Regions from separate parts of the Homo sapiens genome. Here all the other regions are linked to region 1. Evidence: promoter capture Hi-C in 16 types of primary human blood cells and fetal thymus (Javierre and others, 2016). All regions are on one chromosome and are shown on one strand. The core of a region is centred on a gene start or on the middle of the fragment in contact, and the rest is flanking DNA. Distances in the headings are between cores, read along the strand shown. Region 1 holds the start of IFT27 (intraflagellar transport 27). Region 2 overlaps MYH9 (myosin heavy chain 9). Region 3 has its middle 9.9 kb from the start of SSTR3. Region 4 overlaps FOXRED2 (FAD dependent oxidoreductase domain containing 2). Region 5 overlaps IL2RB-AS1 (IL2RB and C1QTNF6 antisense RNA 1).

Region 1 (2,700 bases), core at 24-2,523:
CGGGGCTGAAACCATCAGCCATTCATAGAGTGTGTGTGTTTATTCCCCCACACAAGGCTGGCAGCCACTCTGAGATGCAGAGTGGCGGAGAGGTGGAATGTTCTAGGTGTCTGGAGGGAATGTGGAACTTTCGCACAGGCACCTTTGCTGAGGGGCTGCTCTTCCCTTCAGCATCAGCCATCAGAATCCCAGGGGCCCTGAGAAAGTGAGAACAAGGGGTACATTCGGCCAACCAGTGACAGTGATGATAAACCAAATCTGTCCAGATAAGCTTCCGCTCTCCCATCCACCCCACAATCACGTGTGCACCTACTATCTCCCAGGCACTCATACGTTTCTCTCCTTCCATCTCCACAACCACCCCACAAGGCGGGTTCTCCTAGGCCCATCCTGAGGCTGAGGGATGAGGTGACTTGTCCAGGCCAGGGATTTAGGTCTCTGACCCCCTAACCACGTGCAAGAGGCACCCCCAACCCAGTAAACGCGTACAGAGAGCCTCCCTGGGTGACGGGCAAACGAGGTTAGTGATGCATTCTCCTTTTGCAGAGAGTAAATGGACTAAGAGCAAAGTACGACTTCAAGTTTCCGAGTCTCACCGCTTAGCCCCATCAAAGTGTATTTGTTCTCCCTTTGTTCACAAACATCACTTTAATAAAACACCTTCATATTTTAGATTTTAACGCTCATTACATCTTTGAGCTTTTAAAATGAGATTTCCCTGCGGGATGCGGGGCAAGGACTGCACTTCTCCATGCACTTTAATAGCCGCGCTGTGCAGAACCCGGGAACCGGGGAAGCCGCGAGAACCGCGCGAAGTCAGAGCAAGTCAAAACGACCTCTACAGCGGCGGCCTGGCCCACTGCGCAGGCGCCGCTCCAGACCGCCTAGAGCCCAACCTGCCCCATTGTAGGCGAACCCACTTCTAGAAGGACAGCGGGAGTGGCGAATCCCTATTCCTCCCGAAGATGGGTCAAGCCAGACTCTGACCAATCAGAAAGCTTCTCTTGTCACCGCTTCTGACTGCTTGACGTGGAGGCTTCTTTATCTCGGGACTCTCAGGCGCAGCGGGGGCGGGATATAAAGCTGGTTGACGTCAATTACAACCACTCGTCAAGCAGACTGAACTTGAAGAACTGATAACTCTACGAATTGCATCTCAAGAAAAGGCTGTTATCCCAGCTCTCTACTCCCATTGGATTTTTGTGAGACCTTGAGGGTGGGAGCTTTTGGCGGCAACCAATCGAGGGTCAGCGAGGAGGAGGAGGAGGCGGGGCAGGTGGGCTATGGTTGCTTGGAGAGTGCATCCGGCCCGGTACTTGTGATCGGAGGAGAGCCGGATCGTCCTTCCTTGAACCCTCTGGGTAGGGCTGTGCTGAGGGGCTGGGCGGGGAGCACAGGCCGTGTCCGCTCGCTTGCACCTTTTCAGACTGCCGTGTCAGGCCTCGAGCCGGGCCCACCTGGAGCCCTCCCCTGCCCACCCGCCCCCAGCGCCCGATATCCGCCCCCGGCCCAGAAGGGCCGGGCTCGGTCATCCCCAGTCCCGTCGCGGCCACTGACCCTTGAGATCAGCCCTCCCCTCCCCACCTTCCCGTCCCAGGCCAGCCCAGGGCCCGAAGCCCACCCACTCGCGTCTCTAGCAGCCGCTCTTGTCCTCTGGGTACGGCTCGCGGGAGTGTTGGTTACCATGGTGAAGCTGGCAGCCAAATGCATCCTGGCAGGTGAGTCTGAAAACTTGCGCTTGAATACGGTGGTCTCTGGAGTCCAGAGCCTTCATAATTCATCCAGAGCTTTTGTTCACCTAAATTGCCTACCTTTTCCTTTCTCTCTCCCAAAGGCGAGTTACTGCAATTACTGATACAGTAAATTACGTTAGGCGTGGAAGAATGATCTTCCAGGGCACTTCGCAGCTCCAGTGGATTTCCCCCTGCTCCCTGTCACATACTCTGAGACCACCTTCACCAGTTGAGGTGACTCGTTAAAAAATCACTAGTTACAACTCTGGAGAAGCAGACTTGTTAAAACAAAACAAAACAAACAAAGCTTAAGCAAACCTTGAGTGCTTCAGCTAAACATATACTGTACCCCAAAGTTAGGCATCAGTGACTTTGGTAGTCTTTACTATGGGATTTTTCCCCCGACCTCACCCCCTCTGATAACGGTGACCTGAGTGTAGTGACCAGAGTTTGCAAAAGGCACTTGTGTGTTGTCTTTAAGACCCAAAGTTACTGTGCTGCCCCACTCCAAGAAGGGCATAAATGTTGAGTCTCCCAAAGGCAGGAATCTTTGTTTTGTTGACTGATACATCCCAAGCACCCAGAACAATGCCTGGAACATAGTAGGTACTCAATAAATACTTTTAGAATGGATGAATATGTGAATATGTGGCATGCACATTTGTAGTGTACCCCTTGTATCAGTCTGCACATTTAGAAAAACAATATTTTGGATTATAGACTGCGAAACACATATGCATGTTACTGAGTGCTTACTGCATGTGAAGCACACATATTTCATGTAATCGTCTCACCATAGCACACTGGGCTAGGTACTGGATTGTTTTTCTTTTTTTTTTTTTTTTTTGAGACGGAGTCTCACGCTGTTGCCCAGGCTGGAGGGCAGTGGCGCAATCTCGGCTCACTGCAACCTCCACCTCCCTGGTTCAAGCAATTCCCCTGCCTCAGCCTCCCAAGTAGCTGGGAT
Region 2 (2,700 bases), core at 164-2,663, 440 kb after region 1:
CACTGGAACGCGATAGCAGACGCGGTCCTGGCTTATCTGGTCTGGTCCACGCAGAGCTGAGGCCTGGGGCTGATGTGGCCTCAGTGGAGCTTTAGGAGATGTGCTTGATCCAGAGTTGGTTCTTCTGCAGCCCTGAGACACTTTTCTGTTCCCTGGGATGCTGGTGGACCAGACAGGTGCTGTGGGAAGCAGGCCCTGGGCCACCACCCAACACCATGGCTGCAGCCGGGAGGCGCTGTCCTCGAGCTGATGCGAGCTGGCTGCTTTGTGCTGCTCCTCCAGGAAGGAAAGCCCGGCCCCAGCATGAGGCTGCTGAACTACCCATGGTCCTGCCTGTCAGTCTCATTTCTAGAACTTCTTCTTTCTAGAAGAGGAATCTGCAGTTAACGGGCCCTTTTCAAGGATTCAGCGTTAGGCTTACTTTTTTTTTTTTTTGTAAATCCAACCCAACAGGCCCACCATGCTTTGCTCTGGGCCCACTGAGCGGGAGATAAAAAGGAAGTGGCCTCTTAGAACCTGAAATTTTGGGTGGGGGTGTTTGGAAGCTTTGCCCAGTGTTTTTTGTTTCTGCTCCCCATCCCCTGAAATAAACCAACAACAAAAACTCACATCAAATCCCTAATCACTAAGCCACTTCGTGCTTTTGGCCTCCCGTGACGAGTTCTCTTGCTGCCTGGTGAGTGTCACCTACCAGCCCGTTTTTCCTGTTCTCTCCAGCTCTGGCTTAGAGACTTCAGTTGAACTGTGTCCCAGTTTGTCAGGGCTGAACAACAGTGTGTTCAGAGAAAGGAGTTGCTTTCTTTTACATACCTGATTTCTGGAATGAAGTTATCAGTTGAGAACCAAAGTAATTCCCTACAACTAAAGAAAGATAAATGAACTGAAAAGCTGCAGGTATAAAAGTTGGGATTCTGCACGTGGCTTCTGTCAAATTTGTTTAGTCTTGACCAAGGCTGTCAGCCCCGTGTGGACCTTGATCATAAACTCCATAAACTCTTGAGACCCCAGGTTTTCTTTTGGCAAACAGACAGTACTGATGGGGGCTCAGGATGTCATTCCCACCTGGCTTTGGGATTCTTCCTGAAGATCTTGTCTCTTCCACATGAGCTGGTCCACAGATACAACAGGGCACAGGTCTAAGCTGAAAGGAGAGGAAGCGTGAGCCGTGCTCCAGGAGTGAATCCTAGCCTAACAGTCACCGACATGCCTTTCCTTCTACCGACCGCTCCTCCGAGGCAACGTGTTCATGCGCTGTTAACTGTTCACCTCCTACCATTGATGTCCCTGGTGCTCTCAAGCACGTTTGACTCATCAAAAGGAGTTTCACAAAGCTGGTTGCTGTCTTTGCAGGCCTGTTTGTGCTCCAACAGGGAGCTGAGTTTGTCATGAGCAGTGCCTGGCTGTGTCTGCCATGCTCCCTGTGTGTGTCCCAGCTCCTTCCCTCTTATTCCCTGTTGATCCAGCCCTCTGCAGAAGTCAACAGGGGCCCCTCCTGCTTTGTCTTTCCTTTTCGCAAGGGAAATGTTAGGTAGGAGCAAGGCGGAACCGGACTGGGAGTGTCCCGGTGGCATGTGCTGTGGGTGGTCAGCACTCGTATGTGGTTTTGAATTTCCCTCCAGTCTGACAAACCTGTTGGAGCTGCCTTGGCAACAACCCCAGAAGGAGAAGTTTCCCCCTCCTGGCCCCACCCACAGAAACAGCAGTGCTGTTTCTGGCAGATTTGCCTGTGTGCTGGGAACTTACCTGTGTTTTCCTAATGCATTTTGGCCAAGAGAAGGCTTGTTTGGGGCCTCGCTTAGTCTGACATAATGAAAGTTAAGAGCAATACCTTGAGGTTTTTTTTTTTTTTTTTTTTTTTTTTTTTAATTATCCAGAGTGTCTGGAGGGGGAGGGCTACCCATTCTCTGCCTCCTATAAGTGGGGACTTGGGTCTCAGCAGGTTCAAACCAGGTTCCACCTGGGAGATCACAGGGGCTATGGGGCAGAGGCACTGGGCCGAGTCGAACTGGCTTCTGGTGTGGATGCTGCTGAGCAGGCATGTCCCTTGGTCTGGGCCTACCGTGGTGGCCTGGAGGGCACACTCGCCCATGACCACATTGTGTGCCTGGGAGCGACGGAAGGGGCTTCCTCCTTTGCTGGCAGATTGCTAGGCAGGCAGGCTGCCAGGAAGCTCCACCCCACTCGGCACAGATCTGCAGCCTCTGCTAATATGAAGCATCATTTTGCACTTGCTTTTCTTCACCTCTCTGTTTGCCTCCCAAAGACTTGTAACCCAAGCTTGTGAATTGAGCTGGCTGTGGAGAAGCAGAGCTTCTCGTCATGAGAGTGTCGCGGCCCTTTCTTTGCAGCACTGAGGCAGGCCTGCGGGAGGTGCCGAGTGCTGTGCTCATAGGGGTGTTCGATGGAGGGGAGTCCTGGGGTGCGTGAGGTTTCCAGAGACCTGAGTTCTCAGCCCCATTTGTGCAACTCTGATCAAGCCATCCTGGCAACGCAGGGCAGGGCTCACAGTGCCAACACATATAGCAAGCCACCCCCCAGGGGCCACTCTGGAGTTTCCCTGAAAGCAGAAGACTCCCTGGTGGTGGAAAGTTTTGGTCCCATTTGTCTCAGATTATCCCATCAGTCTCACCCAACGTGGGCATGTTGTCCAACCTGAAACTGCCCTTTTTCCTGTTTTTCTTTCTTGGCCCATACCCATTT
Region 3 (2,700 bases), core at 79-2,578, 450 kb before region 1:
TCCATGTGTGTTCAGCCCGTTAGGTCGACCCCAGTAGAGACAATCTTTGCTTCTATATGATAATAATGTCAGTAAATAACTTCCTTTACTCATTGTCTTGGCTCCCATGCACATATTATCTCATTTAATGTTCTAATAGCCTTCCAAGATAGGTACTCTTAGCCACGGTTTGCAGAAGAGGAGATGAGGATGCGGGAGGGCACAGGTTTGGCTCAAATTGACAAGGCAGATGCTGTCCTTTCCCACCCTCTCCCTCTGTTCCCATCCTCCTTGCTAACAGAATCCTAGTTTTGTGCATAGCAGCACCGTACCTAACACCAACAAAATACTCGTTTTTCCAGCTGGTTTTGTCACTGGGGTTTTCAGGCCACATAGTTCTGGCCTAGAAGCCGATGTGAATGAAAGTCAGCGGGAGAGATGGCTTCTGTGAAAGTTGTTTTCTTCCTTAAAAAAATGACAGGCCCAGGCCGGGCGCGGTGGCTCACGCCTGTAATCCCAGCACTTTGGGAGGCTGAGGTGGGCGGATCACGAGGTCAGGAGATCGAGATCATCCTGGCTAACACGGTGAAACCCCGTCTCTACTAAAAAATACAAAAAAATAGCCGGGTGTGGTGGTGGGCGCCTGTAGTCCCAGCTATGCGGGAGGCTGAGGCAGGAGAATTGTGTGAACCCGGGAGGCGGAGCTTGCAGTGAGCCGAGATTGCGCCACTGCACTCCAGCCTGGGTGACAGAGCAAGACTCAAAAAAAAAAAAAAAAAAAAAATGACAGGTGGGATGTCTGGAGCTGCAGCAGCCGTCTTGTGAGCTTGAAGCCACAAACATGAAGATACAAGGCCCCGTGCTGAGAGGGGATGAGCAGAAAGATAAAAGGAGCGTGAGTTCCTGGCAGCAGCAGTGGGCAGCTGAGCCAATGCTAACAGCTGCCTTGTTATGGGAACTGAAGAAAATGAAACCACCCAATTGTTAATGTCACCGTTGGTCACACCTTTTGTTACGGTAAGCTGACAGCATTTGTCACTGAAGCGGTAGGACTCCTAGCGCAGTGCTCTTCCCACTGTATAACTGTTCCCAGCAGCCACTCCAAGTGGGGTGAGCCACTTGTTTCTGCTCTGCAAATTGGCTGAGGATGGAGGCCCCTCATATAGGAAAGAGAAAGCTTATGGGAAGTCAATGAGAACCTGTTTTGAAACAGGAAGACCTGCCGGTTGTGGGCAGGAGCTGACACCATGGTTTGCTCTTTCATGTGACAACAACCCCTCCCAAGTGCCCACCTAGTGCCAGGCCTGGGCTGGCAGCAGGTTCCATGCCTCACTTCGCCCCTTCTTGCAATGAAATCATGGCCTGGTGGTTGAGGAAAGTGCCTGCCAGACAAGGCCACTTCATCTGGTGCTTTCTATTCTAGAGACTGGCTGTTCCTTGTCCCTTCTTCAAAGCGGAGGCCTGGGGTCCCCCAAACTCCTCCGATCCTTTCACCCTGGCATTCACTGGCCACCAAGCTTGGACAATTCAGCCTCTGTCTATTAAATCCACCCCTTGTCCCCACGGCTGCTCCCTAACCTAACCCCTGCCATGTCTCCCCTGGACAGTAGCCACAGCCTCCTCACTGGCCTCCTGTCTTCCCTCTCTCTGCCTCTACTCCATTTGCCACCAGGTGGCCTGGGGATTTTCCTCATTTACAAACAACTGTGCAGTCAAAAATGCTGATAGAACCACAGACTTATTCAATCATTGAATCCTTCAGCAAATAGTTATTGAGACCGTGTGTCAAGCCCAAGGCTTGGGGGTGGGTCAAGCATGAGCCCGCTCTCAGGAGCTCACAGGCCAGTGGGGAGGCTGTCCAGCCAGCAGAGAGCCCCAGGAAATGGCCCTTCTGCTTGGATGTCTCCTGAGCATTTCAAACTCACACGCCCCGCCCAGCCTTCATCACTCAGTAAATGCATCCAGGCTCTCAAATCAAAAACCTGGGAGTCCTCCTTGACACCTTCTCCCTCACCTTCCACTTCCAACCCATCACCGACAATCTCCTCAGTGACCCCCTTCTCTGCATTGTCATGGTTTCTAATGTCCAAACCAGCACTGTATCCTCCCTGTGGTAGCCTCCTGTCATAGTCAGCAATTGGTACAATAATGCTGTGTAACAAACCAAACTGCCTTGAAATCCAGAGGCAAGAAGCAGCAGGCCTGTATTCTCACACTCACTAGTTGTAGGTGGACAGTGGGTCTGCTGACTTAGGAGGGTTTGGCTGGTGACTTGGCTTCGGGCTGGGGATGGGTGGTCTCGGTCCTGGCTGTGGGTGTGTGTGGGTCGGCTCCACCTGTCTCTCATCCTCCTTAGACCAGCATTCCCTGGGGCATGTCCTTCTCATTGTGGATCACAGGAGCATGAGAAGCCAAGCCAAACCATGAGGTGTTTAAGGCCTCTGCTCATGCTTCACATGGCCGAGCCCAACACCACCAATGGGGCAGGGACAGGAACTCTTCCCAGACTTGGAGGAAAGGAAATATTTGCTGAGCACCAACTGAGCACCAATCCTAATGCTCACACCTCCTGACTGGCCTTCTTGTTTTCACTCTTGCCCTTGGCCATGGTTTATCTCCACGGAGTGGCCAGAGTGATCGCGTTAAACTACCAATCAGATCAGACCACTCCCTTGTATAACACCGTCCAGTGGTATCTCTGGACATTTGGCACGAAACCTC
Region 4 (2,700 bases), core at 89-2,588, 280 kb after region 1:
AGAGCGAGACTCTGTCTCAAAAAAAAAGAAAAAGGAGGCACTAAGAGTTAAAGCTGTTCAGTGGGGGAATTGGTCACCTCCAAATTCAGGTTTCCCAGAATAGCGACGGCCAAGTCTTGACTCGATGGCCATCTGACTGGAACACCACAGAAGGGAGCCCACACCAGGGAGAAGCTGAACTAGATGAGTGCTGAGACCCCTCGCCTCTATCTGAGTCTTCTCAGAGAAAGGCCAGTTTGAAAGCAGCCACAGCCAGGCGCAGTGGCTCATGCCTGTAATCCCAGCACTTTGGGAGGCTGAGGCGGGTGGGTCACCTGAGGTCAGGAGTTTGAGACCAGCCTGGCCAACATGGTAGAGACTAGAAACCCCATCTCTACGAAAAATGTAAAATATGAGCTCGGTGTGGTGGCGGGCACCTGTAATCCCAGCTACTCTGGAGGCAGAGGCACAAGAATCGCTTGAACCCAGGAGGTAGAGGTTGCGGTGAGCCTAAATTGTGCCACTGCATGACAGCCTGGGCAATAGAGCGAGACTGTCTCCAACAAATAATAATACAAAATAAAAAGCAGCCACAGTAGATCTCAGTCCATGTGAGTCTTAGGGAAACGCCAGCCTCACGTTGTTAGCTTCAGCACTGCCTTCCGAAACCACAAGGGAAAAGCCTAGTTCCTCTTCCTCATGGCAGCCTTTCAAATATCTGCAGGTGGCTCTTGAACAGTCTGACCACAGCCCAGCATAGGAGGCTGTCGGGAAAGCCGAGCACGAGTGAACGAGGGAAGTGTTTGGGCTGTGTGGGATCCGTGCTGTGTCGGCCCGAGGAGGGGAAGCCCAGCCTCACAGCTCTGACATGGCCCCCTCTCTCCTCCCCACAGAACAGGAGGTGAGGTTCCGCCCTGCACACTGGCCCCTGCCTCGGCCCACGGCCATCCATCACATCGTGGAAGACTTCTTAACAGACTGGACTGCCCCGATCGGGCACATCCTACCTCTGAGGCGCTTCCTGGAGAACTGTTTGGACACCGATTTGCGAAGCTTCTATGCAGGTAACTTAAGCTCCCAGAAAGACAAAGGGTCTGAGCTCCAGGTTGAAGAAAGGTCACAGAGACCCAAGACCCGTGGAGTTTCAGGACCCATATCTGGAAATCCAAACCCCAGACTACTGTTCCCGACAATGCCGTGGGTTAAATTACAACTCACCTAAAAATAATGGATAATATGTCTTCTTTTTTTTTTTTTTGAGATGGAGTCTCGCTCTGTTGCCCAGGCTGGAGTGTAGTGGCGCAATCTCAGCTCACTACAACCTCCGCCTCCCGGGTTCAAGCGATTCTCCTGCCTCAGCCTCCCAAGAAGCTGGGACTACAGGCACATGCCACCATGCCCAACTAATTTTTTTATTTTTTAGTAGAGATGGGGTTTCACCATATTGGCCAGGCTGGTCTCGAACTGACCTCGTGATCCGCCTGCCTCAGCCTGCTGAAGTGTTGGGATTACAAGTGTGAGCCACCGCACCCAGCTGATAATATGTCTTTTCAAAAGGATTAGCAGGGCCAGGCGCCATGGGAAGGCGCCAGGGCCAGGTATGGGTGGGAAGACAGAGCTGGAGCAGGATGGGAGGCCTGTTTAGAGACACTCCAATAAAGCTTGGATCTCAGTAGGGAAGCTGGGAGCCAAAACCCTCCAAAGGAGGAGATAGATGACATGCATGGTTTTGGCCCTAGATAGAGTGGGAGAGAAAAATCTCTGAAAATATTCAACCAGTAGGCCCTGCTTATGTAAATTTGGGGCCAAACTTCATGAGATCATTGAGCTATAGAAATCACAGAAGCAAATGCACACCTTCTCAAGAAATACACTTTTAGGCCAGGTGCAGTGGCTCACGCCTGTAATCTCAACACTTTGGGAGGCCGAGGTGGGTGGATCACCTGAGGTCAGGAGTTCGAGACCAGCCCTGGCCAACATGGTGAAACCCCATTTCTACTAAAAGTAGAAAAATTAGCTGGGGGCAGTGGTGGGTGCCTGTAATCCCAGCTACCTACTCGGGAGGCTGAGGCAGGAGAATCGCTTGAACCCGGAAGGCGGATGTTGCAGTGACCCGAGATCATGCCACTGCACTCCAGCCTGGGCAACAGAGCGAGACTCCATCTCAAAACCAACAACAACAAAAATGCCAGGGTGTGTGAGGGAGTGAATTCCCACCCTGAGTTGTGGGTCCCACCAATGCATTGTCCCAGGCCCTTTAGCCTCCTGTCTCCCACTTTCTAGACACTGTTTGACTGTACAGGCCACTGTGTGCTGCTGCCTTGGACTGGAGAGAATCCGCCCAGCAGGCGGCCAGCTGGCATAGTGGCAGCCGTCCCTCTGTTACTGTAGCTGATGTGCAGCTGTTAGTGCTGGCCCCAGATTCTGCTGAGCATCTGAGCCCCCTGCAGAAGGGATGATGTTGTCAGAAGGTGGTGCCTGCCAAACAGCCACCTTGCTGCCCTCCCAGTCTTCCCGCTGTCCTCTTCCTCATCTGCTCTCTTACCCGCTTGGAGAGGCTTGCCATGGCCTGGCCTCCCAGGGGCCTCCATGCTAAGAGTCAGAAATAAACAGGAAGTCATATTTCTGGAGCACCTTTCAGCCTGGTCACCCATGGAAGCCTCACGACATCCTTTGTGCTGTGCCCATTTTTCACTTGAGATAGAGGGGCTCAGGGAGGCA
Region 5 (2,700 bases), core at 79-2,578, 400 kb before region 1:
ACGTTTTCCGCCTGAAACGTTAGGCAATGAGGAAGGGGAAGGAAAGGGTGGTCAAGAGGGGAAGCAGCCGTGGGAAATGAAAAATACCCCTGACAAGGAGTGTACCCCAGACAGGGCGACCTCACCCCCACCTTGCCATCGTTTTGTTGAGTGGCCCGGGGCAAGTGCAGGGAAGATTAAGGGGGAAAGGGTGATTAGATGGGAGCCTGAGTTAAAATCAGGGGCAGAGCTGGTGCAGGGATTTTAGCTTGATGGTGTCCCTGGTGACCTGCTGTCTGGATAGATGGGCTGGATCCATTTCATGGGCTAGGTTAGGTTGTGTCTGGAAGTGTTCAGCCTTCCTGGGGAGATGAGCGCAGGAGCTCCTCTGCCACATGGGAGTGTGGGGAAGGGAGTAGATAATTCTTATGTGGCGATCTGGGAAGGCTTCTTAGTGGAGGGGACATGTGGGAAGGGCCTTGGAGGGTGAATAGGAGTCTCAAAGGCACTTGACATGGGGCAAGGAGCTGATGAGAGGAAAGGGTTGCAGGCGGACCAATGTAGTCTATGCTCTGGGCAGTGGGAGAGACCAGTAGGTTGGATAGATGTCTGGAAAGGAGGCAAGGAGAGCAGAATGGGGTTTGAGACAGGAAAGGCCTGGAATGTCAGGCTAAGTCTAGGATTGACCTCTTTCTTAGGTGCTGGGGTGCCTTTAAGAGGCAGATCACTCTGCAGCCAGGTGGAGCACAGGCTGCAGAGGGTGAAGCTGGAGGCAGTGAGGGGGCCTGTGCCATGGTCCAGGGGAGGACATAGAACGCCTAGAAACTGGGTGAATCATGATGTCATCCTGGAGGGGGAGGCATGTCCCCAATTGACTTTGAAGTTGGTGAGAGATTCAACAGCAGAGAGGAGGCAGGAGGGCAGCTGGGGGTTGTTGGGGGGACGGGGTCCAGCTTGGATTAAGGGTCTACCAGGGTGTTTCTCCCACAAGGCTTTCGTTAGCCAGTGGGAAGCCAGCAGGCCGGGGTGCCAGGAGGTGGGCTCCTGTGGCAGCTCTGCCCAGGAGAGTCCCTTGTTTGGCTGGAGGACTGGAGGGTGCTGGGTAAATCGTTTAGCCTTTTTGGGCCCCATATTGTCCTTATCTGTAATATCAGATGCAAAAGCCCTTCTCTCTTACCCCACTGAGGACTTCAGGGTATCCAAGGCTGCAGGGGCATGGCTATTTTCAGAACCCCAAACCAGGACCCATGGAGAAGTGGCAGTGGGACAGAAAACGTGAAATTAGCAGCAGTTGTCCCAGAGAATACTAAGTGTACGGGACAGGGCTGGGGAAGCCTGAGAGAGGTGGTGAGTGCTCAGACGCCGGCATGTATGGAATCTGGAGCCAGGCTGCGGGTTCTGACCCCAGCACACCCTTTCCTTAGACCAGCTCCTGGTTCAGGGCGCACAACATTATTTTTCCTATAGTATGACCGGGGCTTGTCACTTCCTCTCTGTGAGTCTTGGCTTTGTTCCGATAGAGGACTCCACGTGACGATGTATCTCGGTATTAGCAGTGTCTGGCACACAGCCGTGCTCAAATGGCATGGGTTCGATGAGTGACCTCTCTGAGCATCGTGGGAAAGGTGCGGGGCGAAGTGAGAAGCAACAGTCTCTGGCCAGGGAGGAGGCCCTGCAGCCCCCCTCTCCTCTCCCCGCCTCCTCCTCCACTTGGCAGGCCCGTCACAGTAGCCACATACTGCCACGTGTGCGTCTGGAGGAAAGGAGAAACACAGGCAGAAACTTAACATGACCAGAAACAGATGTCAAGAACATTATGGGTGAGGCCAGCGGGTGGCCGCAGGAGCCAGAGAGGAAGGAGGGATTTCCAGGACACGAGTCAAGGGTGCGTGGGGCTAAGCTGGCGTGGCTTTGGAGCAGCTGGCCTTCAGACCCAGGAGGACAGGAGGCGGTGGTGACCAGCACCTGGGGGCTGGGGTCGTAGCATACAGTCAGGTGGGCTGTGGAGTTGCAGCCTGGAGGTGGTGGCATTGGCGGCAGAAGTAGGGTTGCTTCACGGGAGGAAGGAGTCATTGGAGAGGGCTGGCTGTAGGCGCGTGGAGGAAAGAGGTGACCCTCTGCAGGTCAGCAGTAGAGTGGGAGGGTGGGGCGGTTCCTGCAGGTGGCTGGCTGCTCTTCGCTTCTGGTGGGAAGGAATGGATGCCACAAATGCAGATGTATACAAAACAGGCCGTGCTTTAGTTCTCTGAGTAAATTTCACTCCCATTAGGCATTTCCATGGGCTGAAGTCAAAGAAATGTGATTTTGGCAGCTGGGATTCCTCCCCGCCCCCCGATATTTCCCTGCGGCTGCATCTAAGTGCCCCTCCCTGCCAGCAGGGAGGAGCTGGGGCACTCCATGTCCACGTTTCCTCTGCGAGTTTGGCAATGTCCCATCTGCTCTGGGCTCCGGGTCCCACTCCCATACCTCCTGATTCATGCTCACTCCCACAGCGCCTCCCGGGTCCTCATCCCTCTTGGGACACCTGGGTGCTTCCTGTACACAAGTTCCTTGCCTCTCTGAGGGCTGTCTCACCCAGCCCTATCTGCCCGGATACACCCTGGGGCCATTTCTTCCCTGGGGTCTCAGCTGCCTTTCTAGGGTTTTGCCCAGGAAGAGAAGAATGGCTCCTCTGAAGCTCGGATGTCCCAAACCTGTTGGGGGTCTGCCTGGGAAGGAGGA

The links. The method cuts DNA at HindIII sites, captures the fragments that hold promoters and counts their contacts. A CHiCAGO score of 5 or more calls a contact.
Region 2: a fragment that was not itself captured here is called in contact with the fragment with the promoter of IFT27 in region 1 in 1 of 17 cell types (M0 macrophages); the score reaches 5.4 in M0 macrophages.
Region 3: a fragment that was not itself captured here is called in contact with the fragment with the promoter of IFT27 in region 1 in 2 of 17 cell types (naive CD4 T cells and total CD8 T cells); the score reaches 5.6 in naive CD4 T cells.
Region 4: a fragment that was not itself captured here is called in contact with the fragment with the promoter of IFT27 in region 1 in 3 of 17 cell types (M1 macrophages, M0 macrophages and M2 macrophages); the score reaches 6.2 in M1 macrophages.
Region 5: a fragment that was not itself captured here is called in contact with the fragment with the promoter of IFT27 in region 1 in 1 of 17 cell types (endothelial precursors); the score reaches 6.5 in endothelial precursors.

The regions. Positions count from the first base shown.
Region 1 is chr22:36,774,692-36,777,391 of GRCh38, reverse strand. IFT27 (intraflagellar transport 27) reads left to right here and starts at 1,273. Exons shown (of 7, transcript NM_001177701.3): 1 at 1,273-1,718. The coding sequence starts at 1,685. RefSeq lists enhancers at 1-444, 972-1,231, 1,010-1,573 and silencers at 1,472-1,521, 1,652-1,711. The HindIII fragment of the contact is 1,042 bases long and covers 1,001-2,042 here.
Region 2 is chr22:36,331,826-36,334,525 of GRCh38, reverse strand. The region is part of intron 3 of MYH9 (myosin heavy chain 9); the gene reads left to right. Among named protein-coding and RNA genes, the nearest start is that of MIR6819, 46 kb to the right of the region's middle. RefSeq lists silencers at 1,596-1,645, 1,696-1,785 and enhancers at 2,206-2,445, 2,666-2,700, 2,359-2,700, 2,290-2,700. The HindIII fragment of the contact is 1,732 bases long and covers 548-2,279 here.
Region 3 is chr22:37,221,068-37,223,767 of GRCh38, reverse strand. No RefSeq gene overlaps it. Among named protein-coding and RNA genes, the nearest start is that of SSTR3, 9.9 kb to the right of the region's middle. RefSeq lists a silencer at 846-985. The HindIII fragment of the contact is 340 bases long and covers 1,159-1,498 here.
Region 4 is chr22:36,491,976-36,494,675 of GRCh38, reverse strand. FOXRED2 (FAD dependent oxidoreductase domain containing 2) reads left to right here. Exons shown (of 9, transcript NM_001102371.2): 8 at 873-1,043. Among named protein-coding and RNA genes, the nearest start is that of TXN2, 12 kb to the right of the region's middle. The HindIII fragment of the contact is 608 bases long and covers 1,035-1,642 here.
Region 5 is chr22:37,175,691-37,178,390 of GRCh38, reverse strand. The region is part of intron 1 of IL2RB-AS1 (IL2RB and C1QTNF6 antisense RNA 1); the gene reads right to left. Among named protein-coding and RNA genes, the nearest start is that of IL2RB-AS1, 10 kb to the right of the region's middle. The HindIII fragment of the contact is 3,052 bases long and covers 1-2,700 here.